Regions from separate parts of the Homo sapiens genome. Here regions 2, 3, 4, 5 and 6 are each linked to region 1. The links are contacts of gene promoters, found by promoter capture Hi-C in human tissues and cell types (Jung and others, 2019). All regions are on one chromosome and are shown on one strand. The core of a region is centred on a gene start or on the middle of the fragment in contact, and the rest is flanking DNA. Distances in the headings are between cores, read along the strand shown.

What was found. The method cuts DNA at HindIII sites, captures the fragments that hold promoters and counts their contacts. A contact is called where the count stands out against the background at its distance.
Region 2: a contact is called between a fragment that was not itself captured here and the fragment with the promoter of GJD2 in region 1, in 4 of the 25 tissues and cell types used here (IMR-90 fibroblasts, mesenchymal stem cells, mesendoderm cells and 1 more).
Region 3: a fragment that was not itself captured here is called in contact with the fragment with the promoter of GJD2 in region 1 in 6 of the 25 tissues and cell types used here (IMR-90 fibroblasts, adrenal gland, bladder and 3 more).
Region 4: a fragment that was not itself captured here is called in contact with the fragment with the promoter of GJD2 in region 1 in 2 of the 25 tissues and cell types used here (IMR-90 fibroblasts and aorta).
Region 5: a contact is called between a fragment that was not itself captured here and the fragment with the promoter of GJD2 in region 1, in 4 of the 25 tissues and cell types used here (IMR-90 fibroblasts, heart left ventricle, mesendoderm cells and 1 more).
Region 6: a fragment that was not itself captured here is called in contact with the fragment with the promoter of GJD2 in region 1 in 4 of the 25 tissues and cell types used here (H1 embryonic stem cells, dorsolateral prefrontal cortex, mesenchymal stem cells and 1 more).

What each region holds. Positions count from the first base shown.
Region 1 is chr15:34,751,596-34,756,445 of GRCh38, forward strand. GJD2 (gap junction protein delta 2) reads right to left here and starts at 3,403. Exons shown (of 2, transcript NM_020660.3): 1 at 2,823-3,403; 2 at 1-1,777. The coding sequence starts at 2,893. The coding sequence ends at 883. GJD2-DT (GJD2 divergent transcript) reads left to right here and starts at 3,489. Exons shown (of 3, transcript NR_120329.1): 1 at 3,489-3,626. The HindIII fragment of the contact is 7,022 bases long and covers 1-4,850 here.
Region 2 is chr15:34,904,028-34,908,585 of GRCh38, forward strand. It overlaps AQR (aquarius intron-binding spliceosomal factor), which reads right to left. Exons shown (of 35, transcript NM_014691.3): 18 at 2,518-2,685; 19 at 309-478. Among named protein-coding and RNA genes, the nearest start is that of AQR, 63 kb to the right of the region's middle. The HindIII fragment of the contact is 3,174 bases long and covers 145-3,318 here.
Region 3 is chr15:34,884,224-34,888,993 of GRCh38, forward strand. It overlaps AQR (aquarius intron-binding spliceosomal factor), which reads right to left. Exons shown (of 35, transcript NM_014691.3): 25 at 2,303-2,438; 26 at 302-511. Among named protein-coding and RNA genes, the nearest start is that of AQR, 83 kb to the right of the region's middle. The HindIII fragment of the contact is 4,312 bases long and covers 1-3,818 here.
Region 4 is chr15:34,921,075-34,926,009 of GRCh38, forward strand. All of the region lies in intron 13 of AQR (aquarius intron-binding spliceosomal factor), which reads right to left. Among named protein-coding and RNA genes, the nearest start is that of AQR, 46 kb to the right of the region's middle. The HindIII fragment of the contact is 7,298 bases long and covers 1-4,935 here.
Region 5 is chr15:34,942,032-34,946,526 of GRCh38, forward strand. It overlaps AQR (aquarius intron-binding spliceosomal factor), which reads right to left. Exons shown (of 35, transcript NM_014691.3): 6 at 2,257-2,397; 7 at 1-49. It also overlaps the pseudogene RPL36AP8. Among named protein-coding and RNA genes, the nearest start is that of AQR, 25 kb to the right of the region's middle. The HindIII fragment of the contact is 3,772 bases long and covers 1-3,157 here.
Region 6 is chr15:34,616,535-34,621,244 of GRCh38, forward strand. No RefSeq gene overlaps it. Among named protein-coding and RNA genes, the nearest start is that of GOLGA8B, 35 kb to the left of the region's middle. The HindIII fragment of the contact is 5,582 bases long and covers 587-4,710 here.

The sequences.
Region 1 (4,850 bases), core at 2,153-4,652:
AGCCAAAAAAAATCTTTTTAATGTTAACCAAAGTCCACAAGCTGGAAGGCAGAAATATCCTGAAGCTCGTAACCGTGTGCCTAACTGTGCAACAACAATCTCACAAAAGTGTTGTAGTTGCATATTGCAATTCCCTCCCTCCCACCCATCCCCCATCCCTAGTAAACAGCACCAGTGCAGTTTGAGTTAGAAAACTGGAAATATTGAGACATTCCTAAGGTTTTCATCACGACTAAGGGCCAGTCAGATGGGGCTCTAATGAAAACCTCTGCCATGGCCGTTCTCCAATAAGCACCCCATGTAATTCCCTCTAAGTTTGCAAATAAAACATATTAGGTCTAATGTAAGGCCAGATTCTGGAAAAAAAAAAAAAAAAAAAAAAAAAGCTGGCATGCTATTTTGGATTGAGGGAAAGGGGCATGCTGGTGGGGGAGATACATGAAGAGTGCCTCAAGGATGTTTGTCCCATGGCTCAGGATAAAGGGATGGGTTGAGATAGGTCACAAATTTTATATCAATGAAGTACTCAACTCACACCATTCACCAGAATAAAGAGCTCAGCAGGGCTAAGTCCTACTTGGTAGCTGTGCAAGTTCAGTGTTATCAGGATCAGGCTAGGCCATAAACAGAAAGGGACCAAAGAAGTCTAATTGATCCATTTCATCACTCTACCCAATCGTCTCTGTAGAACCAATTAGGTGATATGTGAAAATGGGTCCACTTTTCCTCCTTTCCCATTGGTGCAAAATCTTCTTTTATCCAGTCTTATCCTACATCTTAATGGTGAGGGTCACATAAATGAGGGTGGATACAGCCACGTCTGAGCAGTCATCTGCCTTGGGGCTCCTTGCCATCCCCCAGACCTTCATGAAACCTGCCCTCTCACACATAGGCAGAGTCACTGGACTGAGTCCTGCCAAAATTGGGAACACTGACCCTTGGCAGGTCCTTGTTACGAATCTCATAGATTGACTTTCTCTTGGCCTGAGCCCCTCGCACAGCCAGCTTGATCTTGCGCCATCCCAGGTGGTTGAGTTCAGCCAGGTTGAGCACAACACAGATGCCACTTACAGCAAACATGAACACTAGAAAGACAGTCTTCTCAGTTGGCCGGGACACATAACATTCCACCTCCTTGATGCAGGGGTAGCGGTTACACTCATACAACCCTGGGACACTAAAGCCATAGAGAAAATATTGGCCAACCAGGAACCCAATTTCCAGGGCATTTCGGAACACCACTTGGATAATGTAGAAGCGGGAGATGCCTTCCTGCCTTCTGAGCTTGGATTTTGATGCAGTGCGTAGACCTGATGGGTGTGGAGTCAGCTCCTTAACCTCTAAACAATCTGGCTCTGTCTCCTTACTGGTGTTCTCTGTGTTCTGCAGCACCCCATTCACAATAGCATTTTGCAACTTCTTATCTTCTCGTTTGCCCCCACCACTGCCCCCACCCCCAGTTCCTCCAGGACCTCCTATGGACTCAGGGGGGTCTCTGTCCAGGGCTAGGAAGACTGTAGAGTAGCGGCGTTCTCGCTGCTTGGCGGACTGGTGCACAGAGTAGGTGATGAAGCAAAGACTGGGGGTACACACCATTATGATCTGGAAGACCCAGTAACGTATGTGGGAGATGGGGAAGGCGCGGTCATAGCAGGCCTGGTTACAGCCGGGCTGCAGGGTGTTGCACACAAACATGGTCTGCTCATCATCGTACACCGTCTCCCCCACAATGGCCACAATGAGGATCCGGAAGATCACCACCACAGTCAACAGGATCCTGAACGGAGGAAGAGGGAGGGAGAGAGGTTCTCACGGGCTGCGTCACTGACAGGAAACCCCTGCTCCTCCCTTCCCTTTGCTGGTGTTTACCAGTCTTTTGACTGGGGAGCTGTCCATCCCGGGCTGGTACTGAACTAGGAATCTGGGAAAGCTTTTTGTCTCTTCCTTTTCTGCTGAGTGCTGGTAGGCTGGGAATATTTCATATTATAGAGATCCCAGGTACACACATCTCCATACACTGGACATAGTCTACTTGCAACAGATAGATTTCATCTCTCTATATAGAATGTATAGAAACACAAAACACACCTTCACTCTGGATATGGCAAATGCACACAGAATACCTTTACAGATGGTGCATGCTTCGAGGTCTACACACAGGGTGTGTAAATAACTACTCCATGTGTATATTTAGTTTATTCTCAACATGAATATTAAATTTAATGCTTTATATAAGCAGATGGCTATGAATATATATTCATATATATTGAACTCATATATATATAAAGCTAGGTAGATAGAGACATAGATATAGATACAGACCCAAAAATGGCAATTGGGTGTGTAGGCTCGGTAAGTTTACACCGCCAAATAAGTTTGGTTTAGTAATTATTTGTTGAGAAAAGAGGCATCTGCTCTGAAGAGCAAATCCATCTCCCCATTTGCCCTTTTCTGTCCAAATGCAATCCTGCCTTCTTTGTAGATTCTATTTAGGGAACCAAATGGAGATTGGCTCTGACTCTGGAGAGTGGAGGGACCAAGACTGAGCCAGCGGCTCCTTTTCTGATGTGGGAAGAGTGAAGCCCCAGTGGTGCTTGATGGGGAAGGGATGGGCAGCTGGTTAGGAGTAGCTAGAGGAGGGGGGCATCGCGGGGCGTCGGGTAATCCCTCATCGCCGGGAACACCGGAGCCTTGACCTAGGACGATGGGGAGGAGGCAGAGGACGGACTGGGGATTGGAGCGGGAGACTCAGTCCAGGTGTGAGAAGGGACTCCCGGGGGCCGCCCGACGGGGCCCCCTGACCGCCGGCTTGGCGCCCTTACCTCCCGATCATAGTGGAGTGCTGCTGCACCGCGGCTTCTAGCAGCCTCTCCAAGATGGTCCATTCCCCCATCGCTGTGCATCCGGAGGCAGCAGACAAAGACTGGGCAGCACCGGGCACGTTCCCGCTCCTGGCCCCTCCCCGGGCCGCACTTCCAGAATGGGAGTGAATTGCCTCCCAATTAAAGAAGCAATTTTTTAAAAAATCCTCGAATCCCCCTTTCCTTTTATTGTACTTAAAAGAGAAGAAATGGGGAAAGAAATCCAAGCGCGTCCCGACCGATGGGGCAGTTGGCGCGGTCTAGAGAGAGGGCACGAACCTCGGGCGCCGTCCGGGGTTCGGGTCTGGATCCCGCGGACGCCGGGACGAGGGGCGGGGCGGGGTGGCAGCCTGCAGGTCCTCCAGCGCTCGCCCGCCCAGGAGAAGTCTCAGCGCCGCTCTCCGCCGCAGGTTGGGGGCCAGGGGAGGGTCCGAACACCGGCTCTGTTCCTGCTACTTCAGCGGGCACCTGGCGCTCCGGCGCGGCAGCCTGCGAGGCCAGGGCCGAGCGCGCGGAGCCGAATGCTGGGCTCGGGGATCCGCGGCCGCCGCCTCTAATCCGCCCTTAAGTAGTCTCCGCCTGCGTCACGCCAGGTCGGCGGAGGGGAGCAGAGCGCGCCGTGCGGCTGTCGCTGCGCGTCGGAGCCCGAGGGGCCGGGGACGCGCGCGGGGGGAGAGGGGCAAGAGTCCTGGAGGCCCGGCGGGGAGCGGGGCGATTTCGAAAGGAAGGACTGCAGCGCCCCTCGGGGCTTCTCGGGGAGCCCAGGTAACCTCACCTGACCGCCAGACCCAAGCAGGCGGAGGGGGAGCCGGGAGCGGACGCGTGGGTGAGTGGGGAGGGGAGTGAGTAGGTATCTTCTCTTCTCTCGGTGCATCCCTCACCTTTTCGCTTTTTGCCTCCTGGAGACAACTGAAATTCCTTCCCTAGATGGAGATGCTGGCTGAGGGAGGGCGAGTGGGGGCGACCACTTTTAAATCTCCCTTAGGGGACAGAGTGGCTGAGAGTGCTTCTGCAGAGTGGCTGCGGTTCGGTGCCTCTGTGGATCCGACAGTGAAGTGAGAAAGGCTTGATGGGAATCCATTTAGGCTGAAGGGTAAATGCAGGTGTGGAGCTGTCTCTCGGTATAGGGGTCAGGGCACACGAGCGCATCTAACAGGTGCCTCGCAAAGAGCAAGTGGGGTGGCCATGGTTAAAGGTCTCGCTTCCCCTTGCACTAACCCAGATGCTCGGCTCTTTTTAAATTATTGCTATTATTTTACTAATGGGAAGGGGGGGCGGGGTACTCGTCAGGTAAACTGTGATTTAATCTGAATTTAAGACCCAGTATTCTGCTAGCAGAAACAGAGCCACTCACAGCCTCGCCCTGCCCCCACTTGCCTTACTGGGTTTGGCTTTCTCCCCTCAACCAGCAGATCCCGGTTTTTAAAATTCACATTGTGTTGTCAGTTCTGTCTAGAGCAACTACTTAATTGGTTGCTGAAAAATTGAAACAACCTCACTAAGCTGCTAATTAGCCCAGGGGTCAGTATTAGGAGACACTGTAGCTGGCAGTGTTTGATGTAAATGTACCAAAAGTCCAATGGGAAAGTAATTGTCATCCTTTCGAAAACACGACCTTGAAAGGGTTGCTAACTTGTCCTAGGCATATAAAGGGACCTAGCCTTAATTATCCACAGGGATCATAGCACATATGTATATTACATAAGCCACACCATGGTGAGCCTTCACTTCTGGAACAACCGAGGTGGTTGGGTAGTTGGTGGCCCAGGGACTGGGAAGAAAGGTGCAGGGCATGGCCCTCAGTCCACTCACAGTGTACTTCTTCATAAAATGATGTTTAAACACACGGTCTAAGCTTCGCCGCCAGAAAGATCACTGAAATCCTCTGCTAGGGTTGACATCTTTACCCCAAGAAAGCAGCCTTTCACTGCAAAGGAGTAAAAGAGTCCACTAACAATGGAGAGAGGGATAAAGTGATTTATTAGTTTC
Region 2 (4,558 bases), core at 482-2,981, 150 kb after region 1:
CATTAACTGAATACCTAATATACAAAAAGCAAAAAAGGAGGTGGACCTTTAGAATAACACTTGGATTCATCTATATTTTAAGTTTTTAAACTCCTCAAAAGACAAAATAGATTTAAGAAATCAATTTCTTTAAATTTTTATATTTCATCATTTTGTTAAAAGTTTAAGAGGATTGCTTATAGTAAAAATAAAAGCAGTCATTATTTTTTTCTTAACAAATCTTCCTCTAACCAAATATCTCTGTATTTATGTCATAAAAGTTACTTAAATTATGACATAGTACTTTTAGTTACATACCCCCAAATTACCTTAAAGTTATTTTCCTTTGGTTTTCTCCTCATTATTATATTAAAAGTTTCATACACATCCTCTGCTCCATTTTGTATAGTATTGGTCATATCTTGTTGATACTGGTTTGGATCCAAAAACACTCTAAATGTCCTTGATTCTCCTCTAAGATTGGGTCTGGGTTCAGGTCCTGGACAATTTGAAAAAGTTTGTTAAATAAAATATGTATTTTTCAAATATCAAAATAAGTTAACAGTATTTCTTTTCTAGAAATGGTGAGTAAATGGTTCAGGCTTAACTCCAACCATTCTTCCCAAAGTAGAATGCCCTCCACTCACCCACTTCAAATTCTAAGATGCTGAAAGTATTTTCTTCTTTCTCTAAATTCTTACTATTTCCTTCCATAGCAGTCATGTAATGTTTACGATGCAACACCATGACTTGCAATAATTTGTACACACACTCAACTAAAATAGGAGTACTTAGAAGTCAAAGAACTTATCTTTACTTTTGTCACTCATAGCTCCCACTACTGCCTTACATATAGTAAGTATTCAATAAATATTTTCTAATTAAATATATGTATTTTAGAATTTAAGGCATAGTTTTCTATTCATTAATTCCTTAATTTGACAGAGGTTCATCACTTTTCTCATCCTTCCACATTCCATACCTAGTATAACCAGCATGAAAAGAAATTTCACATACACAGAAATGTAGGATACTAATGGTTGAAAGCCCAGAGCCTTTTCTTTCCTCTCTGACATATCTCCTCTTTTTTGGGGGGGGTGGGGGGAAGGGGGGGTCTTAGACCTCGAACTTTGGTTCCATTATGTGGCCTTATGCTTATTCCATCCATTTTCCATTCCCTTCTCCTATTTCCTCTCATTCTAGAGATAAATAACTTAATCATCAGCAGTTTAGCAATGATATAATCTCTAAACCACAGATAGCATAAACTGACTAAAGTTTCAAAAGAAGTACAACAACCAAATTGTAAAATAAGCACTAGACATGTATGCAGTTGTAATTTAATAATAAGTATTATAAAGGAAGTCAGGACAACAGAAGAAAGAATTTCAAAGGGATAATAAGTGATACACATAAGAAATCAAATAACTGACTAATTTTGTAAAGCAGTGTTTTTAAATGCGGTAAAGTTGGCATCTTATGCAGGATAATTCCTTCTTTTATTTCTGTTCAGATGTTTAGCATCCTTGGCTCACAGTTACCTAATGCCAAGAGCCTGCCATTCCTCACCTCTATCCCGGTCATTTGAAAACCTAAATATCACTATGCATTTTCAAACGCAGGACAGTATTGTTCCCAATTAAGAACCACCACTACAATGAATTAAAATAGTCAAATTTAAGAAGAAAAAATATATCATTGAACACAAAAAAGCTTGGACAACTGTAAGAGATATTTAGAGTGTTTCTTAAAAAAAATATGGTAAAGTATTACATATTTTAAAAAGCTTTGAATAAAGATGATTTCAAAAGATCCTGTCCCAGAGTTCGAGACCAGCCTGGCCAACATGGTGAAACTCTGTCTCTACTAAAAATACAAAAATTAGCCAGGCGCGGTGGCAGGCACCTGTAATCCCAGCTACTGGGGTGGCTGAGGCAGAATTGCTTGAACTTGGGAGGCAGAGGTTGCAGTGGGCCAAGATCGCGCCACTGCACTCCAGCCTGGTTGACAGAGCAAAACTCCGTCTTGGGGGGAAAAAAAGAAAAAGATCCTGTCCTTTCCAATATCTAACATAGAAGTTCTGAAACTGTCTGGGTGTGGTGGCGGCTCATGTCTGTAATCCCAGCACTTTGGGAGGCCGAGGCAAGTGGAGTGCTTGATCTCAGGAGTTTGAGACCAGCCTGGGCAACATGGGGAAACCCCATCTCTACAAAAATTAACCGGGCATGGTCGCACGTGCCTATGGTCCCAGCTACTAGCAGGGCTGAGGCTGGAGAATCGCATGAACCCAGGAGGCAGAGGTTGCAGTGAGCCGAGATTGTGCCACTGAACTCCAGCCTGTGTGACACAGTGAGAAACCATGTTACCTATATCTAAAACTGCACGGTAGGTACCCTACACATATTTGATACAAAATCCTTTGTGTCAATTTAGTAGGTAAAAGAACTAAAAAATATTACCTAAGAAGCAAAAAGGGAAAAAGGCAAAGAAATTTATCATTCTATACACATACTCTTTCAAAAATATAGGTCACCATACCATCTTCAATGACACGTCCTTTATCATCCAGCATGCCCTGAATTTCACAGCCTCTGACATAAACCAGGCCAACCTGCTCAATAAAAGGTCTCCTCCGGTCAAACTTAGTGCCATAAGGTTTTGTGGGACGTACGGTAATTAAAAAGCATACATCATGCTTACGAAGACCTGGTAAGATATAAAGACATTTTCATTTATTAGAATTTCATTGTTTTCAGTCTTTTGTAGGCAAATTCTTATTTGCCTCTCTACCTCTTATCTTTGGTAGAGAGATACCGTTGAGTGACCAATGATTATTATCGCATTGTAACACAATTATGGGCTTTTCTATAATCTTTAATACTCAATATTTCATAGCATTAATTGAAATGAAAACTTCTTTATATTAAAATTAGAAACATTCATGCCATGAATATATTACTGAATAAGCCCTCCAAGTCATGCTACAGCTCCAAAATTGGATGTTCGTCATCATTCTTATTTTTAACAATCTTAATAAGTAACCAAAAATATGGCTGGCATATAATCCATCTATAGCATATTTAGCAGGTTTTTAATATCAGTTTAAACTATCTATCAGTGTCATTCCAAAGACAGCCTAATTGTATTTCACTAAAACAGGTCAACTCAAGAATAATTAATCAAGGCAAAAAAGTATTGTTTACAGGTATGATCTTGAGAAAGATGGCTGAATATATACAGTTTCAGTTGGCAAATCGTGAACATTTTTATAAGTGAATGTCAAGAAAAAGGAGACTTGTGCCAGAGTCCACAGCTTCTTGGTCACTAGACCCAATAAAGAACTCAAATGGCTTCCCAGCTCTATTAAAAGTAGAGAAACTGGAAGACAAGGATTATAAAATTAGACCTCACAGCATGTAATGCTACACCACTTAATCTTCATTCCATTTCTGATGTTTTTGTTAGCCATTACATGACATAAATGTAAATGTAAACAGTCTGCTTGCTCACAACCTTGTTAACAACAAACACAATGAAATCAAATCAACAATGTGGGCATATGGCTAATAGTACTGAAAATATTTTGGTTTGTTTTAATTGGGGGACTGGTTAGAGTATGGGTAAAGGTAGAAATAATAACTCTATTCATAATACTGACTTAATTATTTCCCAATAAATTCTATGCAAAGCAGCAAGAGAAGTAATGAGAATGAATGGGAATCATCCTACTCTCTGAGTTGTACTACCTGTGTGATGTCTGATCTGCACAGCTCATTAAAACTTCTAAGTCTTACAGCCAAAGAAGTGGTCCTGAGAAGTCATTTATCCTCTCCCAAGATAGGAGTTACTTTTTGGCATCACTGAGGGATGACCTCTTGTTCCTTCCTAAAACAAACCACTTTACTCTGGGACATCTTAGATCCACATTTTTTAAAATCCTATATGTCTCTCTCCTTGCAACCATTTGTATCCACCCTATCCTAGCTGTGCTTTCTGGAGCAAATCTGGCATTTCCATTTCATGAATTCTGTTTCCTTAACTTTAAATGAGAATATTGAAGAAGATAAGGGCTTGAGGTTCACACCTTTTCAAAGGGACAAAAGGAATGTTTTATGGTATTTAGTTTAATAATCTTTAAAATTTACTTTTATAAAACAATATTCAGCTGGGCACGGTGGCTCACGCCTGTAATCCCAGCACTTTAGGAAGCTGAGGCAGGTGGATCACAAGACCAGCCTGGCCAAGATGGTGAAACCCCGTCTCTACTAAAAATACAAAAAATTAGCTGGGCGTGGTGGCGGGTGCCTGTAATCCCAGCTACTCGGGAGGCTGAGGCAGAGAATTGTTTGAACCCAGGAGGTGGAGGTTGCAGTGAGCCGAGATTGTGCCACTGCCCTCCAGACTGGGCGACAGAGTGAGACTCCGTCTAAAAAAAAAAAAAATGTATTATTGTTTACAGAATCTCTCCTTTTTACTCCATTTTCTATTTGGCTACCCTATCTGTGATCAATATAGGGGCTGGTTTTTGGCCCAGGCCTCCCATAAAACACTTTTCTCTCCATCATACCCCAGATTATCA
Region 3 (4,770 bases), core at 413-2,912, 130 kb after region 1:
TGGTGAAACCCTGTCTCTACTAAAAATACAAAAATTAGCTGGGCATGGTGGTGTGCACCTGTAATCCCAGCTGCTCGGAAGCTGAGGCAGGAGAATCGCCTGAACCTGGGAGGTGGAGGTTGCAGTGAGCCAAGATCATGCCACTGCACTCCAGCCTGGGCAACAGGGCAAGACTCCGTCTCAAAAAAAAACAAAAAAACAAAAAAACAAAAGATTTGAATATTTCACATTTACTTCAAAAAAAAACTAAACTAAATTAAAAACCACTAAAGGGAAGTTCAAAGAACTTGAGAATCCTTACCTCAAGCTGCGTAAAGATTTTCTTAATATGCCTGAAACATCCTTCAGCAATTTCCATGTCTTCTTCATAAGATCTTCCTTTAAAAATGGGTTGAGGAGCATTTGCAAAGTATTCATGGAAAGGGAAGAAAGTGGAGACTTCCGTAACATCTGGCAATGTACTACCTTTATTTTTCACTTTGCTGATATACTCTTCCCAGCGAGACATTACCTGTAGAAAAAAGGACTTGAAGTTAACTGCCAGCTAATTATGATGTTTTAAAGCATAAAATGAATAAATCTTATAAAAACAAGATCTGCTAGGTGAAAAAGAAAAAAAAAGAAATTCAATCTTTGATCCAATATAACTATTCTTCATTCCTGTAACTGACAGATTGCTCTTCTGTTATAAAAGTAACCTTGTCTTTGGAGAAAAAAAGGCTCTTTAATAACAAATTTCTACAAACTGGAAAGAGCCTTAACATCATCTCATAGAACTCTAACTCCGACAGTTCAGATTCTCCACGTAACTCAAGAGAGTTTATTATTAACGCTTAAAAGAAATGTAAAGGAAAGAAAGCTCTCTGGACAAAGAAATTGCTCATTTTTTTCATCTCTGTTTCTCTCCATATATGGTAAGTTCAGCTTTAGCAGCTTTTTAATCAATTTGGCACTTGTCAACCCTCTGTCAGTTTTTTAGAACATTTATAAAGAACGTCTGGTTAAGCTGAGTGTGTATTTGAAAGCTTATCTTATGACTTTTGTGATTATAGTTCAATTACTTTGTATAATGTTAGCTATGCGTCTACCAGCCAGTTACTATGTAACCTCAATTTCTGTAACTCTCCCAGGTCTTTTTCTGTTACTATCTCAGTGTTTCTCAAAAGTGTAGTCCTTATGCAAAATATCTGAGGAGCTAAATAAAAATGTGGATTCCTGGATTCCACCTCTATTGAATGAGAAGCTATAGGAACAAGGGCTAGGGAATTTAACTCGTAAACAACTTTCCTGATATGATTCTTAAATGTTGAAAACTGCCAATTTACACTGTGAAGCCTCAAGTTCATTCTTCCCAAATTTATTACATAAACCTTCTTAATTTATAGGTTATTTTTCCCACTTTTAAACATTATTTTCACTGAAAGCCAAGTAATTTTGTGTCAAAAAAGCATTTAAGCTGATCTTTACTCCTTTATGCAAGTCCTAAACAGTCTTGAATCTAATGTAGACTATATTATGTATTTTCCCTGCTTCACAAGAAACCATGAAAGCTGCTCATTTTGAATGGACTTAATTGGTTTGTGATATCCACTTACAATGAGCTTACAATATTATAATTTATATCTAAAATATACAATTGGCATTAGAACAAAGAGAACAAATGAAGTTATACAAAAATCTTCATTAGCCAATTATGTCCTAGTCCATTTAAAATTATTAATAATCCAACTGACTATTAAAGTTTAGTTTTATTCACTTTATTTGGCTATTTCTCATTGGTTTTCACACTTCCAAAATTTACCCTAACAAAAGTAAAAGTACATCTTTATGTTGAAGTCAGAAGCCTTTAACTTCAAGACCCACTGTGCAATTAGTTGTAAGACATAATTTATTTCTGGAAATTTGAAGGAAGAATGTTTTCCTTCATTAGTTGATTAATGTATACAATAAAAGTTAACTGTACTTTGTTGCCACTGGCTAGCTAGAATATTTATTTAGTTGTATTTCTACAGTAAAAAAAGAAAAAAGAGTGACTAGAACTTTGCCAATAGAAAGAAAAAAATGTAAAAAGTAGCAACATTGGTCTTTCACAGAATGAGTCATCAAGCAAAGTTATTTAGAAAAGAAAACTGAAGATAATACAAAATACACTTAACATTCATAAATATAGCACTTGCAATACCATACATTCTAATCTACTCAAAAAAATAAGCTTTCATGAAGGATCACAAGAACTCATTCCAGCTTCCAACTGGGGTTCATATTATGATGAAGTATGATTCAAAAACCCTTAATATCTTACCTGGTATAAGAAGAAATAGCCTGCAGTTTCACAGGTATATGAGGCATCTCCTGGAACCCCTAGACTCTTTTGCAATCGTTTGACTTCTTCTAAAAGTTCTATTCTTCGAGCCAGAACATAATTAACTCTTCCATACCTAGACATTTCAATTAGGCAAAATGACAAAACTGTAATAAAGAGACTTTGAAGGAAACAATCAGCAAAATTCAAGAAAATCATAATAGCAAAGAAGAGGAAAAAAAACTAGAAGATATGGCTTCTATTTAACTATTGGTGGTAGTTCTTGGGTTACTTTACACAAAAGCTACTTAAAGTAGGTGGGTCACGGTGGTTCACGCCTGTAATCCCAACACTTCGGGGAGGCTGAGGCGGACAGATCATGAGGTTAGGAGATCGAGACCATCATGGCTAACATGGTGAAACCCTGTCTCTACTAAAAATACAAAAAAATTAGCCGGGCATGGTGGCGGGCACCTGTAGTCCCAGCTACTTGGGAGGCCGAGGCAAGAGAATGGCGTGAACCTGGGAGGCGGAGCTTGCAGTGAGCAGAGATGGCGCCACTGCACTCCAGCCTGGGCGACAAAGCAAGACTCCGTCTCAAAAAAAAAAAAGAAAAAGCTACTTAGAGTATACTCCATGGAACAGTATTGATCTGCAAGGGTGTTACTGGTCTAGGAGGAGGGAAAGTCAACTACATCACCAAATACACCATTTAGTTCAGCTCTCAATCTTTCTTTTCACAGCAAGACACTTTCACAAAGAAGAAAGCAGGACAGTGCATTCTGGTGCTAGTTCATTTCATCACAGACCAAGAACATGTAAGTTCACAAACTGGCTGCTTCAAACAGCACTGTTTTACACTACATAAAAGTAGATTAGATCTAAAGGCTTTGAAAAGTAATTTTTAAATGTTTTTGATTATCTCTGTCATCTACATATCCCAATACATAACTTGGCACCCAAACCTAGCAGGTTCTTAATGTTTGCTGAATCAGTAAGAAAACTGAAGTTTGGAGAGTACCTTGTCCGAAAACACACAGTTAGGGAAGAAAGTAGTGGAACCAGAATTAGATCCCAAATTCTATGCACATTCTTTTCACAACACCACAACAACAAAGGGTCTCCCATAACCCTTTAATGCTTAAAATAAGACTAAAATAATTTAATCAATCACTGTTGTTCCCATGTTTAAAGACTCAACAAAAGAAGAAGTCATGTTCCTAGCTGTCTGTAGTTCAGAGATTCACATTTGAGGTAGCAAGGGATGATTAAGAACAAAAAAGAGATCTAAAACATGATCTATGCTTGAAGAATTTTTCAACTTGGAAGGATATAAACATATGGCAGATAACTTTTTTCTGCTTGCTTATCTATAAACTTTTATCTACAATGAACACTTCGTTAATGAGAAAAAAATCAGGAATGCTTACAGACTCTGTTAATAAAATGCCAAAATTTTTGTGAAGTAATGTTAAACTTAAAAAGCAACAGGCCGGGCACGGTGGCTCACGCCTGTAATCCCAGCACTTTGGGAGGCCGAGGCAGGCAGATCACTTGAGGTCAGGAGTTCAAGACTAGCCTGGCCAACATGGCAAAACCCCGTCTCTACTAAAAATACAAACATTAGCCAGGTGTGGTGGTGGGCGCCTGTAATCCCAGCTACTCAGGAGGCTGAGGCATGAGAATCCCTTGAACCCAGGAGACAGAGTTTACAGTGAACCGAGATCATACCACTACACTCCAGCCTGGGTGACAGAGTGAGACTCTGTCCCAATAAATAAATAAATAAATAAATAAAAGCAATATACAGTACAATTAAACTCTACTATCTGCTCAATTAGTACATTATTACACTTAAAAGATAAAGAATTATTTTTAAAAAGCAACATAAGGCTGGGCGCGGTGGCACACGCCTGTAATCCTAGCACTTTGGGAGGCCAAGATGGATTGCCTGAGCTCAGGAGTTCAAGACCAGCCTGGGCAACATGGTGAAACCCCGTCTCTACTAAAATACAAAAAAAATCAGCCAGGCTTGGTGGTGGGTACCTGTAATCCCAGCTACTCACGAGACTGAGGCAGGAGAATTGCTTGAACCCAGGAAGCGGAGGTTGCAGTGAGCTGAGACGGTGCCACTGCACTCCAGCCTGGGCAACAAAGTGAAACTCTGTCTCAAAAAAACAAAAAAAGCAACATAAAAATTACAAATAACAGCATTACAGAAAAAGACTAGCAAAAAGTTGTTTTAGGATAGTGTAATTATGGATAACCACTCCTTCTCTACAACTTCACCAGATTTTACAATTTTTTTCTTCAGAGAAAGTGATGCTACTTTTATTGTGAAACAATAGTCATAATTTTTCTTTTTAATTGTAAGAGAAAAAGAATATGTCCAATCAAATATGCAAACTAACAATATCTAGGTTATGTGTCAGAATTTAAAAGTACATTTTTTCTAACAAATTTGGTGG
Region 4 (4,935 bases), core at 754-3,253, 170 kb after region 1:
TGTTTTATTTTAAATTCTGTGACAAAATGGGAAGTACATATTTTGCACACAACTTTTACTTTAAAAAACAACAAACTGTTGGACCGGGTGCAGTGTCTCACACCTGTAATCCCAGTACTTTGAGGCCGAGGTGGGCGGATCACAAGGTCAGGAGTTTGAGATCAGCCTGGACAATATGGTGAAACCCCGTCTCTACTAAAAATACGAAAATTAGCCAGGCGTGGTGGTGAGCGCCTGTAGTCCCAGCTACTCAGGAGGCTGAGGCAGGAGAATCGCTTAAACCCAGGAGGCAGAGGTTGCAGTGAGCCGAGATTGCACCACTGCACTCCAGCCTGGGCAAAAGAGCGAGACTCCATCTCAAAAAAAAAAAAAAAAAAAATGACAAACTGTTTATACCAGCCTTGGACAAATGGCCAATTTTTTTTCAAATTTCAAATTTTGAATGAAATAAGACTATAATTTCAAGGAAAACAACTATCAGTATTTGCTGTCAATGATAAAATTTGAACTTCCATGTGAACGTGAAAAATTAGAATTTTGGAAAACTGGTATTTGCCACCATGAGCTTCATAGCTTTCCACTATTTAACTGGTTTCATCACCTCCCCAAAATCCCTTATGCTAATTTATAGCAAATCCTCCTCTCCATCCCAGCCCAGCAACCATAATCAGTTTTCTATTTGTAATTTTATCTTTTCCAGGAGGTCAAATAAATGGAATCACACATTAGGTAGTCTTTTTTCTTGCTTGTTTTTTGAGACGAGTCTCACTCTGTTGCCCAGACTGGAGTGCAGTGGCATGATCTCAGCTCACTGTTACCTCCACCTCCCGGGCTTAAGCAATCCTCCCACCTCAGCCTCCCGAATAGGTGGAACCACAGGTGCCCACCACCACACTCGGCTAAATTTTTGTATTTTTGGTAGAGACGAGGTTTCACCATGTTGCCCAGGCTGGTCTCAAACTCCTAAGCTCAAGTGATCTGCCTGCCTTGGCCTCCCAAAGTGCTGGGATTACAGGTGTGAGCCACCATGCCTGGTCTTAGGTAGGTAGCCTTTTGAATGGCTGCTTTTACTTAGCATAATGCATTTGAGCATTTGAGATTCACCCACACTGTATATTTATCTGTAGTTGGTTCCTTTACGTTGCTGAGCAGTATTTCATGATACGGCTGTATCACAGTATGTTTATTCATTCAACAGTTGTGGGATATTTGTGTAGTCCAGTTTTTGACGATTTTGAATAAAGCAACTATATTCATTTTTGTACATATTTTTGTGTGAACATAAGTTTTCACTTTTCTTGAATATATCTGTAAGTGGAAAATACTGGATCATAATGTTAAGTTCATGTTTACCTTTATAAGAAACTCAAATTTTTCCAAAGTGGCTATCCCACTTTGAATTCCCACCAGCAATTATGAGAATTCCAATTGCTCCACATCCTTGCCAAGAGTCAATATTATCCGTTTTGGGGTTGTTTTTTGTTTTTTTGGTTTTGTTGAGACAGGGTCTTACTCTGTCATCCAGGCTGAAGTACAGTGGCAAGATATAGCTCACTGCGGCCTCGATCTCCTGGGCTCAAGCAATCCTCCTATCTCAGCCTCCTGAGTAGCTGGGATTACAAGCATGTGCCACCACGCCTGGCTAATTGTTTTGATTTTTAGTAGACAAGTCATCCTTCCACCTCAGCCTCCCAAAGTGCTGGAATCACAGACGTGAACCATTGTGCCTGGCCTTATCCATTAAAAAAAAAACAAATTCTAATAGGTATGTAGTATCTTCTTATGGTTTAAATTTGCATTTCCCCAATGACTAAACATGTTAAGCATCTTTCCATGGGCTTATTGACATCTATCTACCTACTTTGGTCAAGTGTCTGTTCAAATCTTTTGTCACCTGTAAATTGTTTTATTATTATAGGAGTCCCCCCTTATCTGTGGTTTCACTTTCCCTAATATCAGTTACTCATGGTTGACCAGAGTCTGGAAATAGTTAAGTATAGTAGAATAAGATATCTTGAGAGAGAGACCACATTCGCATAACTTTTATTATAGTATATTGTTATAACTGTTCTCTTATTATTATTGTTGTTAATCTCTTACTGTGCCTACTTCATAGCTTTATCATAGGTTTTTACATTACATGTAAAAACACAGTATATATAGGGTTCAGTACAATCTACAGTTTCAGGCATCCACTGGGGTTCTGGAACACATCCCCTGCGGAAAGTAGGGGGCTGCTGTATTGAGTTCTGAGATTTCTGGATTCTATTCCTTCATCAAATACCCATTTAGCCAATATTTTCTCCTAGGCTGTAGCGTGTTTTTTAATTCTCTTATCAATGTCTTTCAAAGAGCAGAAGTCTCTTAGTTTTGATCAAGTCCAATTCATCATTTTTTTTTCCATTATGGATTGTGCTTTGGTGTCTATAGAAATCTTTGCACAAACCCACGATCACAAAAATTTTCTCCCATACTTCCTAGAAGTTTTAATTTTGACATTTAGGTCTATAATCCGATTTGAGTTAATTTATGTATATGATGCAAGGTATGGGTCAATGTTCATACTTTGCATATAGATATCTAATTGTTTCAGCACCATTGATGAAATCCTTTCTCTACTGAGTTGCCTTGACACATTAGTCAAAACTCAACTAACCATATAGGTATGGTCTATTTCTGGACTCTAATCTATTCCATTGATCTATACATCTATCCATGTATCAATACCATAATGTCTTGATTACTATAGCTTTACTGCAAGTTTTGAAATTAGTAGAAATCTTCCAACTTTGTTCTGTTACAAAATGGTTTGGGTTATTATAGTTCCTTTGCCTTTCCATGTTATTTTTAAAATAAGTTTGTCAATTTCTATAAAATATCCTGCTAGAATTATGATTGGAATTAAAATATATCTATAGATTAATTTGGGAAGGATTCACACCTTGGGTCCTCTTATCCATAAGCAAGACCTAGCTTCTAATTTTTCAGATTAATTCATTTTAATTGTACAGACTTCCTTACATGGTTTCAGATTCTACTCTGAAACTAATTTTTAAAGAAACTACCACTTGTCAAGTTTTCATAGAGTATTAAAGAAGAACATTCCCAATTATTTGATAAAGCTTATCAAAATACACTTCCCTCTGTGTAAGGCCAAATTTTCTTAATTTACTTCAACCAAAACAATATCTCACAACAAACTGAATCCAGAAGGAGATCTGCAAATCTGTCTTCAATTAAATCAGTCACAAAAATGTAAAACAATGACACTCTTTTAATGGTGCATTTTTTTCATTTTGGAGAATATGTTTTTCATTAGCAATACATATGGCTAACATATAATAGATTTCAATCAATATACTTTTTTTTTTTTTTGAGACAGAGTCTCACTCTGTTGCCCAGGCTGGAGTGCAGTGGCACGATCTTGGCTCACTGCAACCTCCACCTCCCAAGTTCAAGCCATTCTCTTGCCCCAGCCTCCCAAGTAGCTGGGATTACAGGCGTGCACCACCACACGTGGCTAATTTTTGTATTTTTAGTAAGATGGGGTTTCACCATGTTCGCCAGGCTGGTCTCGAACTCCTGACCTCAGGTGATCCGCCCACCTCAGCCTCCCAAAGTGCTGGGGTTATAGGCGTGAGCTACCACACCCGGCCTCAATTGATATTTTTAAATGAATTAATAAATGTTTAAAATCTTTCCAGTTTTTATTTCTACTATAGTGAATATAATGAATATAATACACATAAATGTTCTTTGGGATCCTCAATAATTTTTAAGAGTGTAAAGGATGTCTATGGACAAAAATAAATACCCCAGATGAACTATGCAGCTAAGCTAAATGTAAAAAAAAAAAAAAAAGGCAATAAAAGTATTTTTAAAATATAGGAAAACATTTTATAACCTTAGGGTGAGAAGGACTTCTACATAAAGCATCTAATATAGTTATTAAAAAGAATGACAGTTGTCATTAAAAAATTTAAAATATCTGTAATGACAAAAGATGTTACAAACAAAGTTAAACTGAAAGAAAATAAATGCAACACAAACTAGACAAAGGGATTAGGACCAAAAATATTAAAAGTTCTTTAAAATCAGTAAGATGACAAGCAATGAAATGCAAAATAGCAAAGGAAAATAAGAAGGTTACAGAAGAAATGTAAATGGCCAAGAAAAAAACAGAAAAATGCTTAATTTCCCAAATAAGATCAGGGAAATGCAAAGTAAAATGAGATAAAAATAGAAAAAATTAAAATCCAATTTACCCAGCATTAGTAGGGAGAAAAATAAATCCTCATACGCTGTTAGTTTAAGTGTAAATTGATAGTCTTTTCTGAAGGAAATTTAGCAATATGTAACAAGTTTTAAACGCATGCCCCGTTTGAATCAGCCATTCTGCTTCTAGGAATCAGTACGAAAAGGATGCTCATTGCAGAACTGTTTGTAAAAGCCAAAACTTAAAAATTAAAGATTCACCAAAAGGAGGCCAGGAGCGGTGGCTCATGCCTCTAATCCCAGCTCTTTGGGAGGCCGAGGCAGGATCACCTGAGGTCAGGAGTTTGAGACCAGCCTGGCCAACATGGTGAAACCCCATCTTTGCTACTAAAAATTAGCTGGGCATGGTGGCGTGTGCCTGTAGTCCCAGCTATTCGGGAGGCTGACGCAGGAGAATCACTTGAACCCAGGAGGCAGAGGTTGCAGTGAGCCGAGATCGCACCACTGCACTCCAGCCTGGGCAATAGAGCAAGACTCCGTCTCAAAAAAAACAAAAAAAAAGACTCACCAATAGGAGATTAACTTTTAAAAAAATAAGGCCGGGCGCGGTGGCTCATGCCTGTAATCCCGGCACTTTGAGAGGCTGAGGCGGGCAGATCACGAGGTCAGAGATCGAGACCATCTTGGCTAACACGGTGAAACCCCGTCTCTACTAAAAAT
Region 5 (4,495 bases), core at 22-2,521, 190 kb after region 1:
TTGGGAGGGAGATAAGCTGCTGTACTTGACTTCGTATCAAGTCTACTTCCTGTTTAGGGCATGAAGAAAATAAGTTTATAAACATACCAGCATTTCTACCTAAGTCTTTACATAAGAAGTATACTGCCTTTTTAAGTCCTGGAGGGAAAACATGCCACAAATATTTTCAAGTTAATATTTTGATATTAAGAAGTTCAATGCTTTAAAAAAGACTCCATCCTTATTATCTACAGATTTTGTACTTGCAAATTCATATACTAATAAAAATGTATTTGTAACCCCAAAATCAACACTCCATGTGCTTTCACAGTCATCCAGATGGCCCAAACAAAAATCTGAGTTGTCCGACGTGCACATTCTCAGGTGAGACTGAGCTGATGCTCTGCTTCATTCTCAGCTCTCATACTGTAAGAAACAAGTATCCTTTTTGTGGTCTATTGAGTACTATTTTTTTTGGCACGCTTGTGCTTTTTGATGATTTCGCTGTTTAAAATGGCAACAAGCCCAAGGCTGAAGTGCTGTCTGATGTTCATGGGTGCAAGAAGGCTGTGATATGTCTTACAGAGTAAATACGTATGTTAGATAAGCTTCGTTCAGGCATAATTACAGTGCTGTTGGCAGTGAGTTCATGGTTAATGAATCAATAATATACAATAAATAAGCTGTCTTTAAATAGAAACACACATAAAATAAGGCTATGTATTGATAGTTTGTAAAATGTCATGACCAAGGCTTGCAGGAACCTAACCCTGTATTTCCCCAAGGAGTAATGGTTCAGCATTAGCTCATTCAATGTTCATAGCTACTTTATAAAATGAACATAACTACCTCAAATAAGAACTGACTGCATATTTTAAAAGATAAAGCATTTCAATAATAAACTAGTTTGGTAAGTTGGCTAAAACTATCACCAAATTACTAATACTAATAAAATCTTGTTTCTGTTTAGTTTCTGATAAAAAAATCACATCTATTTATATTTCTATTTGTTCTGTTTAGTTTAATAAATGTTAAAGAGGCTTTCTGTGCCGATAACGCTCACGCAAGCATGGTTAACGTCCCTAAAACCCGCCGGACTTTCTGTAAGAAGTGTGGCAAGCACCAACCCCATAAAGTGACACAGTACAAGAAGGGCAAGGATTCTCTGTATGCCCAGGGAAAGCGGCGTTATGACAGGAAGCAGAGTGGCTATGGTGGGCAAACTAAGCCAATTTTCTGGAAAAAGGCTAAAACTACAAAGATTGTGCTAAGGCTTGAGTGCATTGAGCCCAACTGCAGATCTAAGAGAATGCTGGCTATTAAAAGATGCAAGCATTTTGAACTGGGAGGAGATAAGAAGAGAAAGGGCCAAGTGATTCAGTTCTAAGTGTCATCTTTTATTATGAAGACAATAAAATCTTGAGTTTATGTTCAAAATAAATAAATAAATAAATAAATAAATAAATAAATAAAAATAAATGTTAAAGAGATAACAGTGGTATCCAGTGCAGGCATCATAAATCTTTTTTTATGCCTTTAAAAGATCCATGTGAGATAGTACATGGAAACAGGTAATAATCATCCATCTATTAACACTCAGTCTTCAGAATAAGAAAGAACTCCATGCATTCCTCCTGCATGGGTGTAAGTGAATTATCAATTCAGAGGCACTAAATAAATATGTGTATTTATCAGCTAACCACACAGGAAAGCTCAAATAAAATATTACTGAAAATATTTAATTTTTTAGAAGATAATCTTATGAAGGATGAAAATGTATCACACACAAGACATTTTCAAAGATCATTTACACTTGGCCTTTATCAGTCAACTCAAAATACAACTCTCCTGTTGACTAACCAGCCTATGCATAAGGCATGATGAAAAGCAATGAAACTACATTCCTGTATGTATATGCAGTTTGTGGCACAGATCTCATTACTCCAATTCCATATAACCAGTCTCCTTGCTGCTTCTCATTTTTGTGCTCTCCCTTTAGAGTTTCAGTTCTTATAATCATTTTTCTTAAGAGTCTAGATAGAAAAAATTAAGTATCAATTTCAAATCTATTAAAAAGTGAACATATCTTATAAAAACATATCTTAAAGACTTATAAAATGGTTTTACTGATAAGTGGCTGAAATCAAGCTTTTAGCATTATCCTTATTGCCTGCTATTATGGATGAATGGAGTTGGCTACAGAGGTAATTTCATCTAAACTCAACCTAAAAGAACAAGAAAACTTGAAAATTACCCCAAAATATAAAGTAAAAGTACCAAACTATTGAAGCAATGATCAAGAAAAAGTAGTAAGACTGTCTGTTCATGAAGTGAAAATTCACCATCAGTTTCAGCTAATGCCGCCTTCAAGATGTGTTTAAAAAAGAATGGGAAGTGGTCTGGCTTCTTCTTAAAAATCTGAAAAGAAACAGAATAAAATTCATTTTGTATTGGCTTGCTCACTTAAGCTTTAAAGAAGCCCTAGTAGGCTTTTTAGCAGTCTATTAAAAAAACCAAATAATTACAAAAGGGTTATTTGTATATGTATAAAAGAAGCATCACGTGCTTACTTATAATTAATGGCAAGTCAAATACAGGTTTCTGACAGGACTATGAGAGAGCTGCAGAACCCTTTAGCTAATAAAATAATGGCTTTCATTTCTTTAGTTTTTCCTCTGTGGATTATGCCTGTATTTAGCTTAGGCTTTGTTTTCTTATTAAGGATCTGAAGTGTTTTAATTTCTCTGATTTAAACAAAAGAAACTACATCTTTAGCAAAAATTGTAGTTTTCACACTGTAATTAATCTCAAGAACAGCCCCTCCTGCTTTATATTAGCTCTTTACTCTTAACTTGTAAATAATGTAAATATATTCAAGCCTCTTTGACCTACCTCTGTTTCTAGTTACTGCCACAGACAAATGCTCCAAGCGTGTGGTCTATACTAGTTGTTTTCATTCACTTCTCTAAGACAAGCTCTCCTGAAGCTGTATGGCTGTCAAGTCCTATGGACCCTTATTAACTCTCAACTCCTTTTCACCATATTGAAGGCTCTTCTTCTTTTGCCTGTTATCTAAACCGCAATATTCGTAGGGTTCTAGCCTCATTCTTCTCCCTCTATTACTTCAACCACTAAATACCAATGATTCCAAATATACATCTGCAGTCCAGATTTCTCTTCTGAGCTCTCAAACCTTAGATTCCTCTACTAGATGACTTAATCTAGATATTCCAAAGGCAATTTAAACTGAATATGTCCAAATTCAATTCAACAGTTTTGTATCCTCCAAATTATTCCTCACTCTCTATTACCTATCTTGGTAAATGGCACCATCATATATTATATTCATTTGCCCAAGCCTGGAAGGTTATTGAAAATAACACCCTTTCCTAATGCTACTTCAACTGATTATCAAATTCAATCAATTCTACCTTCTACATCTCTGTATATCCTCTAAATCTGTATTATCATTTCTCTATTTCAAGGCCTAATCACCAAAGTGATCTTTATAACAGGTAAACTGACCAGGTTATTCCCTGGCTCAAAAAATTTTCCTTCTTCCTTTCTGTATTTCTATAATAGCTTGAAGCAACTTGAAGAAACCCCTAGGCTCTCTTGATAGTGACATAAAACCCATAGTTTATTCTGAGCTCTAATGTGCCCTGAGATGGTAGTCATTTAATGAATATTTGAGATAAGTGTCCATGGTTTTATCTTAAAGACTCTATCACCTTTTCACTTTGGTGACCATTTACTCAAAACAGATGACAGGCATCCATTCCTTTTTTTCATTTAAAAAAGTCTGACTGGAAGAGAAGAAACTCTTGATGAAGTGACCATTATATGGCGGGCAAAGAAAACAAAGATTTTGGATCCCTACTGATCAAGCTTCTGTTGCACCAGCACAAAAAGGAAACATCAGTGCATTAGAAATTTCTAAAAGGAAAAATAGATCCCAAATCAAGGACAAAAAGAACAGGCCAGGCACAGTGACTCATGCCTGTAATCCCAGCACTTTGGGAGGCCGAGGCGGGTGGATCATCTAAGGTCAGGAGTTTGAGACCAGCCTGGCCAATATGGTGAAACCCCATCTCTACTAAAAATACAACAATTAGCTGGGCATGGTGGCGGGCACCTGTAATCCCAGCTTCTTGGGAGGCAGAGGCAGGAGAATTGCTGGAACCTGGGAGGCAGATGTTGCAGTGAGCTGAGATCACGCCATTTGCACTCCAGCCTGGATAACAAGAGCTAAATTCAGTCTCAAAACAAAAAACCAAAAGAACATTGAAATTATAATGTAAGCATCTGTCTTGACTTTGGTAACTTTTTTTATTCATGTAAAACTACAAATATAAACTCCCTCTTGAGGTCGGGGGGGTCAGCCCCCCGCCCGGCCAGCCGCCCCGTCCGGGAGGGAGGTGGGGGGGGTCAGCCCCCCGCCCGGCCAGCCGCCCCGTCCAGGAGGGAGGTGGGGGGGTCAGCCCCCCGCCCGGCCAGCCGCCCCGTCCGGGAGGGA
Region 6 (4,710 bases), core at 2,128-4,627, 140 kb before region 1:
AAATGACCTTGAACAAAATGCTGCCATGGGCAAAACAAAGTCATTATAACTATCCACTACACTGTGGACTGTGTTAAATAATCATAATCCAAAGAAGAAGCTCCAAAATGTTGGTCTCTGGTATGAATCTGTAACTTAAAAGCAGTCACACATTGGTAACATCTTCTTTCCTGAATTATGTTACTACATCACAGCAAAGGTCTAAATACACATAGCGACACTTCAACACTCAGAACATTTTCTCAGCATGCCCACAACGTGGAGCTGCAGTGTAAATGAGTCAGACCCATGCGCTGAAACAAGTTGCTGAGTCTAGTGAAACAAAATATACCAGACGGACTGTGAATAAAGTGGTGGGTAGTACCTGAAAGCTTTGCCTTAGGCTGAATTGGAAAGATCTAAACTTTCATTGAAGAAAATATTTATGAATGCGTTACCTAAGATGAAATTAACTAGCACAGATTCAGACTAACACTTGCAGAAGCCCAGATTGTAAATATAAAAATGTCTCTGTTTTTAAGTTGATTAAATCTTCTTGTTCTATTCCTTAGAACTATTAAGTTGTGCCTCTCTATATTTACCTGCCTGTTTTTTAAAACACATACTTTTTTTTTTTTTTTTGCTTTGAAAGTGTGGAATAAAGGAACACTGCTAGGAAAATGAAAAAGCAGGAAAACTTAAAATATGGTTTTTTAGAAAAATATTTATGAAGCAGTTTAGCATACTAACTGCTTTAGTAAAGTGGTTAGAAGATAGATGATTGCTCATGGTTTCCAAATGGGGAAACAAGGACTCAGAAAGCTTAAATAACTTCCCAAATGTAAATCTTGTAGTGGAATCTACAATAATGTCCAATTTGTCCTCTTCTAATTCCAGTCCAGCATTTTTCTAGTACATATTCATTTTTGTTTGGTATATTCTTCAGTATTCCACAGTTTCCTGCATTGAGTTTTTATTCTGTAGTTACTTCCCTCTCTCAGCATTTTCATCCTATTCACCAGCAGAGAAAGAGGGTAGCTTTCTCGATTTCTGTTAATCTTTATCACCAATCACTTGACTGTAGTAGTAACATAAACCTCAATAGCAGAAATGAAGACAACATTTGAAAACTCAGAAAGCTCTCGCTTTTTCTACCTTCTGACCCAGTTTGCAAGAGTATATTGGTAAAAATATCTTGACATCTTTGGAATGCTGTCAAGAAACACAGAGCCCAAATGAAGTCTATATTCATTGTCTCTCACATACATTTTGCCTGTTAAAAATACATTTTGTGCAGTTTAAACCCAAAGTGTCACAGAAGTACTACATTTCTGTGACTTGAAATTCCAAAGTGAGACATTTCAATCTTCTTTAAGCTGGAAACAATTCTTATACTTGTCACCTCTTGTAGTTTATACAGGTCTCTTTTGATCCTCTTGCAGTTACTTGCTGAATATTGAAAGGGGCCTTTTTGACAAATATAAAACAGGGTTTATGTGTGCATGTTTACTTTTATAATTTTTATTTGTTGCTAGGTCCAAGAAGTCTTTTTCTCCCCTTGGCATTACTTTGATGCACCTGTTATGATCCTGCTGAAAGCTCTCTTGCTTCTTTGGAGCCCTGAGAGGAGCTTTGTAACTTTGACATTTTCACTAGCTTTTGACTAGCTGCTAAGATTTCGGCTGCTGTGGTGCAGTACAGAGGCAGCCATGTATTGGGCTGCCAAGTCTCAAACTCTTGTTTGAGAACCTCCAGACCTCACTAAAGAGGATCTGCAGAACAGAACTGTATTCTTTCACAAGGTGGTTGGTGCCAAGGCCGGGTTGGTCTTTGACAGAGCAGAAGCCAGGATGATCAATATCAGAAGCATCCTCACACATGGTTTTCAGGTCAGAAGCTGGGGTTAGGGATGAATTTTGCCAAGTATTGGATATAATGGGGGATATTTAGAAAAGGTGCCAGGCATTGAACTGATTCAAATTTCTCCCAGTATCTACTGTTTTTGTAAAAGCAAGAAATTTTGCATTGGAAATAACCTAATTAGTTTAGAAAACCAAATAAATAAGAAAATAAGCATAGCATTTTTAAAGGCTTAGCTATTTAAGCATTTAAAATACTTTCTCTCACAAAAGTTAAACCCTGTTCATGTGTACACTGGTTTTGATAAGATAATATTTAGACTGATGTTGGATTATCTTAACTGAAAGTTTTAATATAGCTTTCAGGGATACTTCATGTACTCTTGAAACTATATCACATATATTTGTATTTATATGTATGTCTGTTGATGTTTCTCTCTGTATACGTAGATACATATCCATATCTAGCTAGCTAGCTCCCATTTGCAGGTTTTGTATATTTAGTTCCAACAGCATAGAAGGGGAAAAGGAACCTAAGACCATAATATTCAGTAGTTTTACAAGCAGGATATTAAAATTCATTTGCAAGTTCTTAGTGGAATTCAGTAGCTTTTGATTATATGTATTCTACTGCAACTTTTTTTTTTTTTTTTGAAATGGAGTTTCACTCTTGTCACCCAGGCTGGAGTGCAATGGCGCAATCTCAGCTCACTGATACCTCCGCCTCCCGGGTTCAAGTGATTCTCCTGTTTCAGCCTCCTGAGTAGCTGGGATTACAGGCACCCGCCACCACGCCCGGCTAATTTTCATATTTTTTATAGAGATGGGGTTTCACCATGTTAGCCAGGCTGGTCTTGAACTCCTGACCTCAGGTGATCCGCCCACCTCAGCCTCCCGAAGTGCTGGGATTACCAGCATGAGCCACCGCACCCAGCCACAACTTAATTTTTTAACTGAATGCTGTTATATATGAGGGTAGCAAACACCTGCGGTCAAGTTTCTCTGGGCCATTTGGAATATTTCAAGAACATTATAGACATAACTTGCATTCCAATTGTTTAAAGAACTGTATGAGTCTGAATGTGGAAATTAACCATTGTTTTCAATGCTAATTTTACAAGACCAATAAGCCTGCAATAGAATGACTAGGAAGGCTACTACCTTCATTAAAGAAAGAAGCTGAATGTGGTGGCTCACACCTCTAATCCCAGCATTTTGGGAGGCCAAAGCGGGAGGATCACTTGAAGCCAGGAATTTGAAACTAGCCTGGGCAATGCAGTGAAACTCCATCTCTACAACAAAAATATGAAAAATTAGCCAGTCCTGGTGGTGCACACCTGTAGTCCCAGCTACTCAGGAGTCCTGAACCCAGGAGGTCGAGACTGTAGTGAGCCATGATTGCACCACTGCACTCCAGCCTGGAAGACAAAGTAAAGTCAGAGACCACAGCCAACCAGAGCACGCATTGCTCTTGGTGGATAAGTGAGGCAAAGCAATTTATACTGTTTACTCCTCTATTTTCCTCTCTTTCCTTGAATTCTTCTAACATTTGTATTTTTATAGCATTGTATCCACAAAATAATGATATCGATGGTGTGGTAGTGTGCTGCTCCACAGGCACATAAATCATCTGACTCAAAGAAATGAAAATCTGGACATTATGATTCCTTAGTGAGCATGATGTGATGTATCCTCCCTCCAGCTGCTGTCAATGACACCACCAGGCTCAGCTCCGGCTCCTCCGGTGCCTCCACACCATAAATGAGACTCAGTTTCTCACTTAAGACTAAAACAGTGCTTCTGTCTAGATCTGTGTTTTTCTACCATTTCAGTTTAGTTTCCACGTACATAAAATTCATTTTTTCATGAGTTAGACATATTTTATTTTTCCTAAAAGCAAGTAATTCAAATGAAACCACCTCTTTCTCCACTTCCTTCTTTGTTTGTCTACTTCTTCTTCCTTCCCTCATGCCACTCCTCCCTCCCACTTCCTCTACTTCCCCTGGAACATCATGAAACACTGTGCTTGCTGATATATTGTATTTGGTTATGTTAGGAGAGCAAAGGAGTATAACATATTGTTCCATTCCCTGGGAAGCTTACCTAGCTAGATAATATTACAAAATTTTAAGTGTTCTGATCCTCAGAAAGATGAGAGGGAGAGATCAGTAAGGCCTAGGTTAGCAAGGACAGGCTTCATTTAATAAATATTTAATGATGATTTACTGTGTGTAATTTATTTGCATGTTGACTGCCCTGCCTCCCAACCCCTCACCGTTCTGCTACTGTAAGCTCTTCATGTGCAAGTATTGTGTTTGTTTTTTCCAAAATTGTATACTGTCTACCTGTGATACTCAAGGTGGGCACTGGAAAGTATTGTTGAGTGAATGCATAAAAGAATGGCAATTGGAGAATTCTAGGTTTTGCTTCTTTCTTTCAAGGAGATGGTACTTCCGTAGGGAAGCATCACAGGAAGAATGTGATGGATTTGCTTTCAGGGAGGGAAAGGATGCACTCAGTTGGGGTCACTCATTGCTGTTTCCTATTTTGTCTAGTTTAAGAAAGGATGAATTCACCCAGCATTGAAATCAAGTGAAAGGTAATTTACTACTTAGTCATTTATGTGTTTTTATCCCAGCATCCAGCTGTTTCCTGGATCATATTTTATTACAGTTTTTATTTATAGTATGTCTTTGCAAGAAAAACATCCGGTGCAGCAGGGCTTAGCAGTTGGTGTGTAATAATGTGTATTTTAAAGCTACATAGAAGACACTTTTTGCAAGTTTCCCTAGAACAGTGAGAGTATCAAATCCCCTTCCCCATTTTTAAAGCTGTGAAGGATTTCCCTTGAGATTTATGGCTTTAGTACAAT